Linked DNA regions of Homo sapiens: regions 1, 2, 3 and 5 are each linked to region 4. Evidence: promoter capture Hi-C in 16 types of primary human blood cells and fetal thymus (Javierre and others, 2016). All regions are on one chromosome and are shown on one strand. The core of a region is centred on a gene start or on the middle of the fragment in contact, and the rest is flanking DNA. Distances in the headings are between cores, read along the strand shown.

The links. The method cuts DNA at HindIII sites, captures the fragments that hold promoters and counts their contacts. A CHiCAGO score of 5 or more calls a contact.
Region 1: a contact is called between a fragment that was not itself captured here and the fragment with the promoter of STXBP6 in region 4, in 1 of 17 cell types (erythroblasts). The highest score is 5.7, in erythroblasts.
Region 2: a fragment that was not itself captured here is called in contact with the fragment with the promoter of STXBP6 in region 4 in 2 of 17 cell types (M2 macrophages and monocytes); the score reaches 5.8 in M2 macrophages.
Region 3: a fragment that was not itself captured here is called in contact with the fragment with the promoter of STXBP6 in region 4 in 3 of 17 cell types (M2 macrophages, monocytes and M0 macrophages); the score reaches 6.6 in M2 macrophages.
Region 5: a fragment that was not itself captured here is called in contact with the fragment with the promoter of STXBP6 in region 4 in 2 of 17 cell types (M1 macrophages and M2 macrophages); the score reaches 5.9 in M1 macrophages.

What each region holds. Positions count from the first base shown.
Region 1 is chr14:24,951,317-24,954,016 of GRCh38, forward strand. The region is part of intron 2 of STXBP6 (syntaxin binding protein 6); the gene reads right to left. Among named protein-coding and RNA genes, the nearest start is that of STXBP6, 97 kb to the right of the region's middle. The HindIII fragment of the contact is 546 bases long and covers 1,008-1,553 here.
Region 2 is chr14:25,149,001-25,151,700 of GRCh38, forward strand. The region is part of intron 2 of LINC02286 (long intergenic non-protein coding RNA 2286); the gene reads right to left. Among named protein-coding and RNA genes, the nearest start is that of LINC02286, 5.9 kb to the right of the region's middle. The HindIII fragment of the contact is 2,305 bases long and covers 124-2,428 here.
Region 3 is chr14:25,129,772-25,132,471 of GRCh38, forward strand. All of the region lies in intron 3 of LINC02286 (long intergenic non-protein coding RNA 2286), which reads right to left. Among named protein-coding and RNA genes, the nearest start is that of LINC02286, 25 kb to the right of the region's middle. The HindIII fragment of the contact is 1,209 bases long and covers 757-1,965 here.
Region 4 is chr14:25,048,737-25,051,436 of GRCh38, forward strand. It overlaps STXBP6 (syntaxin binding protein 6), which reads right to left and starts at 1,411. Exons shown (of 6, transcript NM_001394410.1): 1 at 1,142-1,411. LOC124903295 (a long non-coding RNA gene) reads left to right here and starts at 1,608. Exons shown (of 2, transcript XR_007064091.1): 1 at 1,608-1,698. The HindIII fragment of the contact is 7,485 bases long and covers 1-2,700 here.
Region 5 is chr14:24,934,709-24,937,408 of GRCh38, forward strand. The region is part of intron 2 of STXBP6 (syntaxin binding protein 6); the gene reads right to left. Among named protein-coding and RNA genes, the nearest start is that of STXBP6, 110 kb to the right of the region's middle. The HindIII fragment of the contact is 3,446 bases long and covers 1-2,700 here.

The sequences.
Region 1 (2,700 bases), core at 31-2,530, 98 kb before region 4:
TGTCTTCCACAATGGTTGGACTAATTAACACTCCCACCAACAGTGTAAAAGCGTTCCTATTTCTCCACATCCTCTCCGGACTTTTTAATGAGCGTCATTCTAACTGGCAAGAGATGGCATCTCATTGTGGTTTTGATTTGCATTTCTCTAATGACCAGTGATGATGAGCTTTTTTTCATGTTTGTTGGCAGCATAAATGTCTTCTTTTGAGAAATGTCTGTTCATGTCCTTTGCCCACTTTTTGATGGGGTTGATACACAACTTCTAAAGTGCATGTTTACTTGAAAAATATATTCTCTTACATAGCCCTGAATGCCAAGCAACTCTATTATATTACATGGCTTTACTGTATAATTTTTGGTCATTCTTCATTTAAAAAATTTCTTATGTGATGGAAAAATGTCAAGTTACATAATTATATATTTATATTTCTTTTTGTACAATAGCCAAACTGTTCAAACAGACAGTAAGTTCTTTGCTGTATTTTCACTATTTTAATCCTTCTGGTGTATAAAATGTGTTTCATCCTTTTAAATAAAATATATTTGAAAAACAATTTTTATACTTTCTTTGAATTTACATCTATGAAATATAAATACACATCAGGCAATTGGGAAAGCTAAAACCCAAGTAATATTTGATATTAAGGGATTTATTGTTGTGATACTGGTATTTTGATTGTGTTTTTAGCACATATTTAAAATACTTATATATATAATATACACATATAAAAATATTAAAGAATGAAATGATATAATTTACATAAAAATAATCCAGTGAGAGGCAGTGGATGGGAAATAAATACAATATGACTGTCCAATAGAGCTAGTTACATGGGGATTCATGATATTATTCTCTTTACTGTTACATATTTGTAATTTTTAATAAAAATATTTAAAAATAATAATTACTTAGAAAATTCCATTAAGACAAATAAGCTTATTTCAGGCTGCTCTGCTTAGGGGGTAGCCATTCTTTATCCCTTAAAAAAAAAAAAAAGACAAATAAGCTTATTTCAAACTTACTTAAATGCACGTAGTTAATCTGTCGGCATGAATACAGTTATCAAATATTCACCTATCAATAGCATAGATTTTGTTCTAAACCTCCACAAAGGTCATTGCTAAATTTTGCCCAAATGTAAAACTGAGGAGTATTAATCTAAAATGTCATTTTGTACCTTTCTGAGTTTTTCTAGATAAAACTAAATTTTTGAAGGGGCAGAATTATAGCCATTCATTCTCTGCAATCAGCATTTAATACTCTTAATCATACAAATTTGACCCCAACTCCACAGTTAAAACTCTCTTTGTCATTACAACAAAACTCCGTGTTGAAAGAATTTAAAGTATTGTTATACAAGGAAAAAATAGCACAGTAGGTAGCACAGTAGGAATCAGAAAAACACCTTATCTCACTCAGCATTAGGGAAAAAAGGTACGTTGTTTTCCCTCTTGATTTATTTAATGCTGTCCATAAATTTCATCAAATAAGTAAAAACAAAAGATGTGACCAGAGGGCATTCCAACTCAGAGGAGGAAACCATACCAGGAAGCTTTTGAGAGTAAGATATCCCCAACCATACTTTATTTCTTCATATATTCATGAGCATATGCAAATGCTCAATACAAAGACATGTTCCTGCTCACATTTCTATTGTGTTTCTGATGGGGAGCATGAGGGTGAGAATGATGTCTTCTATACTTTCTACAGCATTCCTTTTTGTCTAAAGGAGGCCAGAAGGCCACACTCCATCTGGAGGCACTAGGAGAGAATCAGTTCCTTGCCCCTTCCCACTTCTGATAGCTGCCAACACTCCTTGACTCATGGCGACATCACCCCAATCTCTGCCTCCATATTCACATCGCTTTCTTCCCTGTGTGTCTCATCTCCCTTTGTGTCACTTGTATAAAGACACATGTGATGGCATGTAGGCGCAGCAGGATGACGATCCAGGGTAACCTCAGCTGAAAATCCTTAGTTACATCCACAAAGACCCTTTTTCCAAATATGGTGAACTTCACAGGTTGCCAGGATGAGGATGTAAACCTATCTTTGAGAGCCATTATCAGCCTCCCTCAACATCACTCTCTGTTTGCTGAGCTGCAGTCACACTGGCCTTCTTTGTGTTCCTCCAAGTTGTCACGCTTCCTTCTGCCACAGGGAGCAGTGCTTCCTCTGACAGTGGCTACCCTTTCCTGCTGCTCCCACGCTTTCCGCATGTCCCCAGGAAACTCTTTTTCAACCCTCATATCCCAGTTTGTCACTCGCTTTCTACTGAAAACACCAAGTTCTTTTGTTCTATGTTTTCTTTCATAGAAATCAACTCAGTATTTCATAGCTGATTAATTTCTCTCTCTCTAAATCCCATGAAAACAGTTGATTATCTTAATTTTTGTCCACAGTAAGATCTCAACAAAGATTTTTATAAATAAACAAAAAACTATCTCAGGCTAAATGGTGGACATAATTAGAATTCTAAGCTGGTGGCCAGTTGAGAATTACTGATACTAATAGCAGAGGCCAGCATCTTCTTCAAAATGGGCATAGAAGAGACCAAGAGCGTGAAGCCACGGAGTGCATAAGAAACATTACTTGCTGTTCTTGGGTGGGGTAAAGGTGACAATAGAGGGGGTTGGAAGAAGAGGGAGAACTCCCAGGATGGGCTGAGGATCCTTGCAAAGGCTGCCAATTCAGAAG
Region 2 (2,700 bases), core at 26-2,525, 100 kb after region 4:
GTAGCTGGTACCACAGGCACATGCCATAATGCCTGGCTAATCTTTTGTACTTTTCTTTAGAGATGAGGTTTCACCATGTTGCTCAGGCTAATACTTTTTGAGTTAATTTTAATTTGATGTTGAAGCTTAGGGCCACGTTCATCTTTTTGGCTTACGGATGTCCAATTGTTTCAGCACCATTGTTGAAAAGTTATCGTTCCTCCATTGAATTGTTTTTGCACCTTTGTGAAAAAGTAACTGCACATATTTGTATGGGTCTATTTTGGGTTCTCCATTCTGCTCCATCAATGTATGTGTCTATTTTATCACCATGTAGCCTTGATTACTGTAGCTATATAATTTGAAATCAAGTAGAGTAATTCTTCTTGCTTTATTCTTTATCAAAATGGTTGTAGCTATTCTAGTTCCTTTGCCTTTCCATATACATTTTACCATAATCTTGTCTACATCTACAAATTCTCTTGCTGGAATTTTGATAGAAATTACATTTGACCTGTATATTGAGAAGGCTGTGAGTTAGGTTAGCAATTTGCAGAATCAATTTCCCTGTAACCATCTCCATTGTTTATTTGCATATATTAATATTCATTGACACACAAGCCAGTGTGTGCCTGTGTGTGCATGCATGTGTGTATGTAAAGAAAAAAGGGGGAGGGAGGAACTTCTTCCTTCTCCTGATTTGGTGTCATATGAGGTATAAGCAGCTCAGTGAGGGTTTGGGGCACAGGTGAAAAATCTACCAAATAAAATCTTTAGATACAACCATTAAGATGTGACCAATTTGGTTGAGGTATTTTGATGCAGGCCATTTAAAACACAGTATCACTGTTGTATTGCCAACTTATATTAGTAACGAATATCCCTGTGTCATTTCTAACCCCCATTCAAATCATGGAGGATTTTCATATTCAGTTGTGTTTATTTTTGTATTGGCCCACATTTTTGTCCTATGTATAAAGTTTAAAATTAATTTTTAAAAAATTTGAATAGGCAATGGATATATTCAAAATTTAAAAAATGTAATACATCATATAATACAATCACAAAAACATCAAAACAATATATGAAGAAGCAAACCTTATATTCTTATAGCCACACTATCCATATCCATTTAATTCTACCCCGCCCCCAACAGGTAACCACTTTTTAATTTGTTTATCATTCCAGGGAATAACCCGCATATATGTTTACATATACACTTAGAGTATTTACTTCAAAACACTATCATTAAAAATGTAAATAAATTTTGACTTTTTATTACTTTGTCTGACAGTAAATATGGTCTATGATCTCAGTTTGTTCCATTTTTAAAAAACACAATTTGTAATAATGTATCTTGAGAGTGAATACCCTCATTTGTAAAATTTTTGTTAAAACTTAAATCTTGGCAAGTTTTCCCCTCACTTTCTTACCTTTTATGTAACAATATTGTTAGATAAATCTGTTTAATTTTAAGGCCTGAAGATTCTTTATAAATCATGTAATCTTACTCAAGACATTTTGAGATCAGGAGAAGAGAAGGAGTGTGTTCAGGACCACAGGGTCAATTTGTGGCAGAGCTGGGAGTGGAACAGAGGCCCAGTCCAGAGCTGCCCTCTGCCCACACTCCTGAATACACCCATTGCTGTGAGATGACTCAGATTTATTGTTACCATGGCTGAAATCCATTGGAAAAATGTTTCTGCCATTCATCTCAATCCTCTGCTAGTCATGTGGTTTATCCTTTATAAATGAGGATTTCTTCTTTTTTGTTGACAGTTTCATGATTTTAGTTGTTTCTGCTCTCTTAACATTTGCCCAGTTCAATGATTAATCCTCTGATCTGAGCCCACTTAGACTGGAGTAATATCTTGCCAATGAGAATGAGCAAGTGAATAATTGAAATTTTTATTAAGGATGAAATTTCTTTACTATGTTATATTTATTATATATATGATAGTTTCAACTTTCTGAGTCTCTCTTGTCAAATGCATTCTTTCTCATTATCTCCTTTATAAAATGTTTAATTTAAATGGTCAGTCTTCTGTTCTTATGCAGGAGAATGTCAGCCTGATCCTCAACCAATTAATACCACGTTTCAAGTTGGGTTTGACTTCTACTAACGTAGTAGTCTGACCCCTAGTGGTTATAAGAAACATCTGCACGGCTTGTAAGCAAATTTTGACTGAATTTTCTGAAAAGTGAATATCGGACAATGAATTTCTCCTTGAAAATAAATAAAATAAAAATAAGAGAAGAATTTTGAGTCCATAGAAAAAATAATAGGGAAGTTCAGGTAAAATCATGTTTCTATAAAAATAATTTCAAATCGGTATTTTTACTGATTTTTTAGTATTATGTGATCAGGCTGCACTTATGTAACACATTTATGGTGAACATAACACACTTATGTTCCAGGAATTCATTCTATGTTATTTATTGGAAACAAAGCTTGTTTGCCCCCAAAATTAATGTTTTGTCATTGTCCCAGCATGCCCTTTCTAGTCTGCGTAGAATTGGGATCAAACTTAGAGCTGGATGACATTTTTGTGGTCTGAAGATCAGAGAGCCAGAAAGGACTGGCCACAAAGTGAAGTCACAAAGTGAAATTATCAGTAAATCTAAGCAAACTCTGTCTTTCATGAGGCCCTGAGGTCTAGGAGGGCCTGAGTCACATCAGGAGAGTACAGCCTGCCCTTGATTCTTGGGAGCTGGGAGGCA
Region 3 (2,700 bases), core at 111-2,610, 81 kb after region 4:
CTGGCCAACAGAGCAAGACTCTCTCTCTCTCTCTTTTTCTCTCATTGTGGAATGATTATTAAATGATGATTACTCTATATAGTACTATATATATATAGTCATATATATATATTCATATATATATAGTCATATATATATATACACACACACACACATATATATAAAGTCAGAAAACTCCACAGACATTAGACCTCATAAGGCAAGTCACTCTGTGCTTACACATCCCAAATGTTTTGTTCTTCGGAGCCTTTTTAAGAATGGAAGGAAAATAAAAAATGCAAGAACTTTTTATGATTATTTATTGTGCCACTGCTAATTTGAAGCCTGCCACTCATAACAAGGGGAATGATGATTACTATATATATAGAAATATATAGTAATATATTCTATATATATGAAATATATAGTAATATATTCTATATATATGAAATATATAGAATATATTCTATATATAGTAATCTTATTCTATATATAGTAATATATAATAAGATTACTATATATAGAAATATACAGTAATATTTTTATATATATTTTAATATCTAGTAATATATATTACTATATATGTTATATGTAAAACAATATATACTATATATAGACATAGTAACATATATTACTATATATACTATATATAGACATGTCTATATATAGTATATATTGTTTTATATATACTATATTATGTATGCTATATAATATAATAAAATATATAATATGCTATAATATATAACATTATATAATATATATCTCAAAGGATGGTTAAGCTTTCAAAAGGCAGGGATAAAATAAGGGGCAATTTAGGAAAATAGGAATATATAGTATATTATGTATAAACAATATATACGATATATTATCGTATATATTATGTACGATATATTATCGTATATATTAAATACTATATATTATTGTATATAATATATACTATATATAAATGTATATGATGATATCTATATTACTATATATTTCTATGTATATAGTACTATATGTATAGTAATCATCATTCCCCATGTTATGAGTGGCAGGCTTCAAATTAGCAGCGGTACAATAAATGATCATAAAAGGCTCTTGCATTTTTTATTTTCTTCCATTCTTAAAAAGGCTCCAAAGAACAAAACATTTGGCATGTGTAAACACACAGTGACTTGCCTTATGAGGTCTAATGTCTGTGGAGTTCTCTGATTACCATCAAGAAAAGCAGAAGGAAAAACATTGGTTCAGGATCATTTCTACTTATCCTTTTCTTTCCAGGTAAAAGAAATCTTTACCTGGGTCTAGACCAGCAAAAGCTCTTTGAAGCAGGAGATACACATCACTGGGTACGGCTGGTTCTCAAACATGCACTTGATTTTATTCACAAGTCTTACAAATCATCACATGCCCAAAGAAACACCTAGGTGAACTAAAGTTCTGATTTTATACACTCACTGCCACCTGTCACTCACAGCCTGCAAGTCTCTGTGCCAATGTCAGAAGCTGGAAATATATTATGATGGTTAAGATCAGTGCTCCTTATCAGTCATTTTCTAGTGGATTGTAAGTTGCTCATGTGGCAAAGTTAACCTCTTAGGAAGAAGGGGTAGATGGAGAACAATAGAAGAGGTGGAACTAAGTTCTGGGGTACTCCAGCATCAAGAGATTGAGGAGAGGGAACTGGGATCAGTTGGATGTCAGGAAAGCAAAGCAAGAGTGTCATCATGGGAACCAAGAGAAGAGAGAGTGATCAGCTCTATGAAATGACACCCCCATTTTTACATCCCCCAATTCCCCATTTATCTTTCTCAGCTGCAAACATGGATGATTTTCTTCTATGCCGTGAGGTCACTGAACGTATAAGTAGAAATTCCTAGCTCTCAGAACCATTTGGGACTTTTGCAACCTATACAAAACTTCAGTATCCTCCTTTTTTTCCTATTTTATATTTTCTCTTTTGAATTTAATCCTCATGCGATTAGAGTACGCTAAAAGGGACCAAGCTTAGATTAGCAGAAGAATTTTACTAAAGGTTCAAGTATGCGTTTGGCAATGAAATTCCATCCAGTATGTATTTACTAAATGCTTACTAAGTATAAGATGCTATTCTCAATGCTGTAGAAAAAAAATTAAAATTCTATGTTCACTGAAGTCAACATCTCAAATGTTGGCAATGTAGGAATGAAATTATCTTAAAAGAGATAATGCATAATTTGCTGTGGAAGTACAAAGGAGGAAGAGATCACATTCAGCGGGAGGGATTATAAAAAACCTGGAGGAGGATTTAGTGTGTGGGTGGACCTCAAAGGGTTGTTAAGCTTTCAAAAGGCAGGGATAAAATAAGGGGCAATTTAGGAAAATAGGAACAACATGAGCAAAGGCACAGAGATGGGAAACTATAGCTTGTTTTTGGAGAAATGGTCATAGTTAAATTTAGCTGAAGCATAAAGATATGTATGTAAAAAAGAAGTGAGTAAGACTGAAGAAGTGATGGCATATGTCAGAGAGTCCTGGGTAGAGAGGCAGTGAGGCAGGGAGGTGGGGAGGCCACATGGTGAACTGCAAAGAGCATGTGCTTCCCAGCCAGAGATGGGTTAGAAATCAAGGATCTCCCCAAAATATTAGTTCTGCAATAGGATTGTCAAATCATGTCTCCAATCTATAATTTTTCTAATACAAAAGACACGTGTATGCTTACCTTAAAAAAAATCCCACGGCCAAACCAAACCAAACTAT
Region 4 (2,700 bases), core at 161-2,660:
TCCTCCACCCCCAGGGTGGCTCTGACTAGGGCGCAGCTCTGACTAGTGTGCAGGCAAAACCCCAAAACTCAAAACAAGAAGTGAAAAAAGTGGAGCCAGGAAAAATTCGTCGGCATCCTCCACAGCCTTACAATCCGCACAATGCCAGTTCCAGGGTCCTGGGGTCGCCCGGAAGGCAATCTTAGGAGAGGGTGGAATGAGATGGAAGTTCCTGCGGACCTACCGATCCTATTCTCTCCCACCCAGTCCCTAGGGAAGCGTAATAGGAAGGGGAGAAGGTTCGTTATGAAATCCTGGGGCCAGAACCAAGGGCAGATACACCCCGGGGACTTTCTCCTAAAGAACAAGATGTCTTTCCAAATTCTCCACCTGCAGGTCCTGTCCTCTGTGAAGATGAACGGGGTGGGGTGGTGAGGTGGCGGGGTGTTGTAAACCTGAGGAAAGGTTGGAGGGAAAATCAAGCCACCCACCTACTCCAGCCACGTTGCCCGGCGGTGTTGGTGAGGCTCGATGCCGGCGTGCACGGCAAGCGCGAATTCGGAACCTGGCGCCCTTGACCAAGCCTGAGATCGGAAAGGGGGCATCGCCCAGGGCCAGCGCCCTGGGGGCAGGGTGCCGTGCCCGCCAGAAAAGCTCGCCTCAGTTTTGGCAGTAATGATTTTCCTAGAAGATGCCAGAGTTCGCGAAGATCGGAGTGATTCGCGGATTTCTGCGCTCAAGCTAGAGGCGCAGCGACCCCGAGCTCCCCCACACTGGGAGCCTCGGGGCAGCATTCTCGGGGCCCATGCCATCGCGGGGACGGTGCGGAAAAAAAGGCTCCATCCTCAACTTTCTCGGAGGAAATCGCTCCGTTCTGCGGCTTGCCCAATACTGCCCGCACAACGGGTCCCAGGGTTGGAGAGAACCAGGGACACGAGTCCCTCTCTGCGCGCACAAAGCAGCTGCGCCGGGGCGCGCGGCCCCCTCTCCCGCCACCCGCCAACTTGGAAGAATCTCTCTGGGAGCCTGCCTACTCCCCTGGCCTCACAGCCACCCGCCTCGGACGGAGCGCCAGGCGCCCCAACAGCCGTGGCGGCTGCAACCGCATCTCCCGGGCTTGGCCTCCGCCCTGACCGCCTGGCTCCCCTCGCCCCGGTCCTACCGTGCAGCCTGGCTCGCGCCCCTGCCGTGCCAGTGCGCGGCACGCGTCCCAGAGCACGAGGCTCCTCCCCGGGGGGCTGCCCCGCGCGGGGCTCCGGGCTCCGGACAAGGCTTAGCCGGCCCGGGTGCTGGCTCGCCGCCGCTCGCGGCTCCCGCGCCGGCTCCTGCTGCCGCGCGCGAAAAGGGAGGGGTTGGGGGGAAACTCCCGGCAACTCCAACTCCGGGCGCTGGAGCTCCAGCTGCAGCCGCGCGCCCGCCCGCCGCCGAGTGCGAGCGCCTGCGAAGCAAACCTGCCCGCGCGGCCGCCTCTGAGCATGCTCAGTGCCGCCGTGGGCGAGCCCGAGCGCCCTGGCCCGGGGCAAAGAGCAGCGGCTAGGGGCTGGGGGCTGGGGGCCGGGACCCGCGACCCGCCCCAGGCCTCGGAGCGCGGAGGTGGCAGAGGAAGGGAAAGGCCAATGTAGGGGCGGGGGCCCTGAGCCAAAGACCCGGGAGAAACCGATCTGGGTGCAAGAGCCGGTGCGACTTTCACGGCTTGTGGGAAGTTTGTGGGCTAGAAAGGTGGGCTGCTTCTGTGAGCTTCTCTGTGAGACTATATTCGAAAGGACAACCAGGAAACATTTTTTTTTTTCTCTAGGAAAAAACGAATAGACCCAGCCGATGGGTTTTTATCCTGTGCGCTCCTTCCTTTATTCTTACGATAGCAAACTCAAAGATCTAATGGGGCCTGACAGGCACTGTAACTGGGGGAAGGCGAACTGGAGAGAGCTCCGAAGGCAGGGCCGCTTATCTGCTCTCAGGGTCCCTTGCTATCGGGCAAGAATTAGACCTAGTGTTGCTAGATTTTCTGATTTTTCCAGAAATGACGGAGTATATTCATGTACAATATCCTGATTTGTAAAATCTTGATAACAAATTCAATTTTCTCAAAACACCCTGGACTAAACAAAACATATCTGCGTCCCCTCCCTGCTGAACCCCCCAGACAGTGATTTGAGCATTGTGATTCTGCACTCTTTTAGCGAAGTGGTGCTGAGTGCTCACTGTGGTTTGGGAAAGTGCTGGAAAGGATCCAAGATGATTCAGAATATCTTCGAAGTACTACTAGTTACTAGGGGAAATGGGTTTTCCTGACAGTAGAGCGCTACACTTAAATGCTGGAGCGTTCAAGAAGAAAGACGTTACTAATGTAGAAAGCGGTTGTAAGAACTAACTTTTGGGAAACATCATTAGTAAAAGTATCTGTGTGGGGAGTCACTGCAGGGCCGATAACAGTGCCCCGGAAGGCACTTTTGAGCCTGAAGCAATAGGAAAAACCCCTAAACTTACCCTGTCTTTATTTAAAATTTTGTTATTTTTCATCATGCATTTTTGATATTAATTTTGATTTTTTTAAATATTCCATTAAAATATTAACCTTGATTACTGAATTCTTTGGTGAACCTTTAAGTGCTGTGACTCACCTCACCCTAGCCTGGCCCTGTTGGGGTGTTAGATGGTGGTACACAGACCTGCTTGTTTGGAGTGCAAGGGGTAAGCATTAGCATAGTGAAATAGGAAAGA
Region 5 (2,700 bases), core at 103-2,602, 110 kb before region 4:
GACAAAGTAAAAATAATACAACTAATAAAAGCCAAGGGGCATAGGAGGAAAAATAAGAAGTATAATAATTTGTTTATAAAATCAATAAAGTCACTCTCTAAAACAAAATTCCTAAGAATTTTGTTGTTAGGAGGTCAGAGGCAAACTGACCTCTGATAGAGAACACCAAAAGACACATTTTAAGAACCTTAAGTGATATTAATACTCTTTTTAAAAAAAATCTCAAAAAATACTTGATTTACTTTACATTTATAACATTAATGCATCTCACAGAGTTCCTTAGGTCTCCTGGAGCAATGGGATGGTGGAAGAGGGGAATACGAAACGAAGGTACAGAAAACCTCTAAAAGAGACTGATCTTCCCACAGAGAAATGTGCACCATCTAGAAATGTATTTTATAAAAATTAGTATTGCACTATAGCACTGAATTAAAATCCTTTAGTAAATATGAAAAAGCAGCAAGGGCAAATGTGGGATCATTAGATACACTCAGCTTCTCATAACAATAAGCCACAGTTAATCCTGCAGGGCCTCTTATGTGCAAATAGGTTTTGCTAGACAACATTTATAATATAGGAATCTCCAAATTATAGAAAGAAACAAATTTGAGGCAATGAAGGAAAAGCTAGAAAATAAAGTTGAGAGTGAAGTTAAGAGAAGTGTCAAAACAAACAAAAGAAAAAGAGATAAAAAGCAACATCCGTCCCCTGACCAAATAAATCCATATATATGATTCATGTGAAAAGGCTCAGCAAGAAGTAAGAAAGAGCCAAACTAAGTCAAAACAAGTAAGAATAATCTAAATTTCAAAAGGAAGAAAAACATCTCCATGTTGTGGAGATATGTGTGGTGAAGTTTCAAAAGGATGATTGATATTAATAAGATGGGGTTATATGGGCTTTGCATACAATATAACAGTATTTTCTAAAAACATCTAAGAGGAAATGTGTCTGCAAAGAGTATAAAATGTCTACTTTCGAACACACTTGTTATTTCAGATTATATGACACTAAAATACAATTATACTAGATTGCTTTTTCTTTGACTTCTTTTATTGAAATCCAAGATAAGCCAACATGACTCCACCTAGAAAGTCTTTCTTCTCAGATGTAGCACTGCTCTTGGAAATAATCTTTTCCTGATGAACACATACTAACAACTTAACATCCATGCACAGACCAGACAGAGACAATTTGGCAACTCTCTTTCATATCTCCTTTCACAGGAGAGATCTAGCCCAAGAATCCAAAACAAACGAGAGAAATATGAGAATGTGTGTAGAATCACAAAGCACATGTGACTCTTCCTTGACTTAACAGTATAACTTTAGGTTGGCTAGAACCAGATGTCTTTGAACTTGGCTTATTTTTTGTGTCTGTAGCAGGTTTTTGTGTCTGTGGTTCCACTGACTAGAGCCCTGTGTTAGATCAGAGTTAAACTTTACAGCCATTTGAGAGTCTACTGGCTTGCTTTGCTCCATTAGTCCCAGACTCTACTTGAACACTTGCTGTTTGCTTTTCAACACTGTTGTTTCCTGCTCCCCCTCCTCCTCACATATGGATCACAGGCCAGAAACAAAACAAAACAAAAAACAAAACAAAACAAAAAACCCTACTGTCATTGGATGCACCAAAACCAGGTTGGCATGCTCTTTGGATGCTGAGTAATGCCACCTTCAGATAGAAGAGGTCACTAGTTTGAAGAAAGGAGGAGAAATGGAAAATATACACATAGGAAGAATGTGAAGAAAGAAATCTCTTCACTTTGCAAATAAATCTATTCTTACAGATTAGATTTGTAAAGAATCTTATAGATTAGATTTAATCATATCCAAGTCATCACTGATTGTCAAAAGGTACTATTATTTATGTAACAGGCACTATTATTTGTGTAACAGTAAATAAGTAAAGAGACCCATGAGGAATTGCCACACCGTCTTCCACAATGGTTGAACTAATTTACACTCCCACCAACAGTGTAAAAGTGTTCCTATTTCTCTACATCCTCTCCAACATCTGTTGTTTCCTGACTTTTTAATGATTACCATTCTAACTGGCGTGAGAGCAATCCCATTACTGAGTATATACCCAAAGGATTAGAAATCATTCTATGATAAAGACACATGCACACATATGTTTATTTCAGCACTATTCACAATAGCAAAGACTTGGAACCAACCCAAATATCCATCAATGATAGACTGGAAAAAGAAAATGTGGCACATATGCACCATGGAATACTATGCAGCCATAAAAAAGAATGAGTTCATGTCCTTTACAGGCACATGGATGAAGCTGGAAACCTTCATTCTCAGCAAACTAACACAAGAACAGACAATCAAACACTACATGTTCTCACTCATAAGTGGGAGTTGAACAATGAGAACACATGGACACAGGGAGGGGAACATCACACACCAGGGCCTGTCGGCGGGTGAGGGTGGAGGGAGGCATAGCACTAGGAGAAATACCTAATGTAGGTGACAAGTTGATGCGTGCAGCAAACCACCATGGCACATGTATACCCATGTAACAAACCTGCACGTTCTGCACACGTACCCCAGAATTTAAAATATAATTTAAAAAAAAGTAAAGAGACTACCAATTAAACCACGACACACTTTTTAAACACATGCTTTTACATTTACTAAGAGTTCTTTTAGAATTAGACTTATATATGATGTTGCTCTGTTACTATGC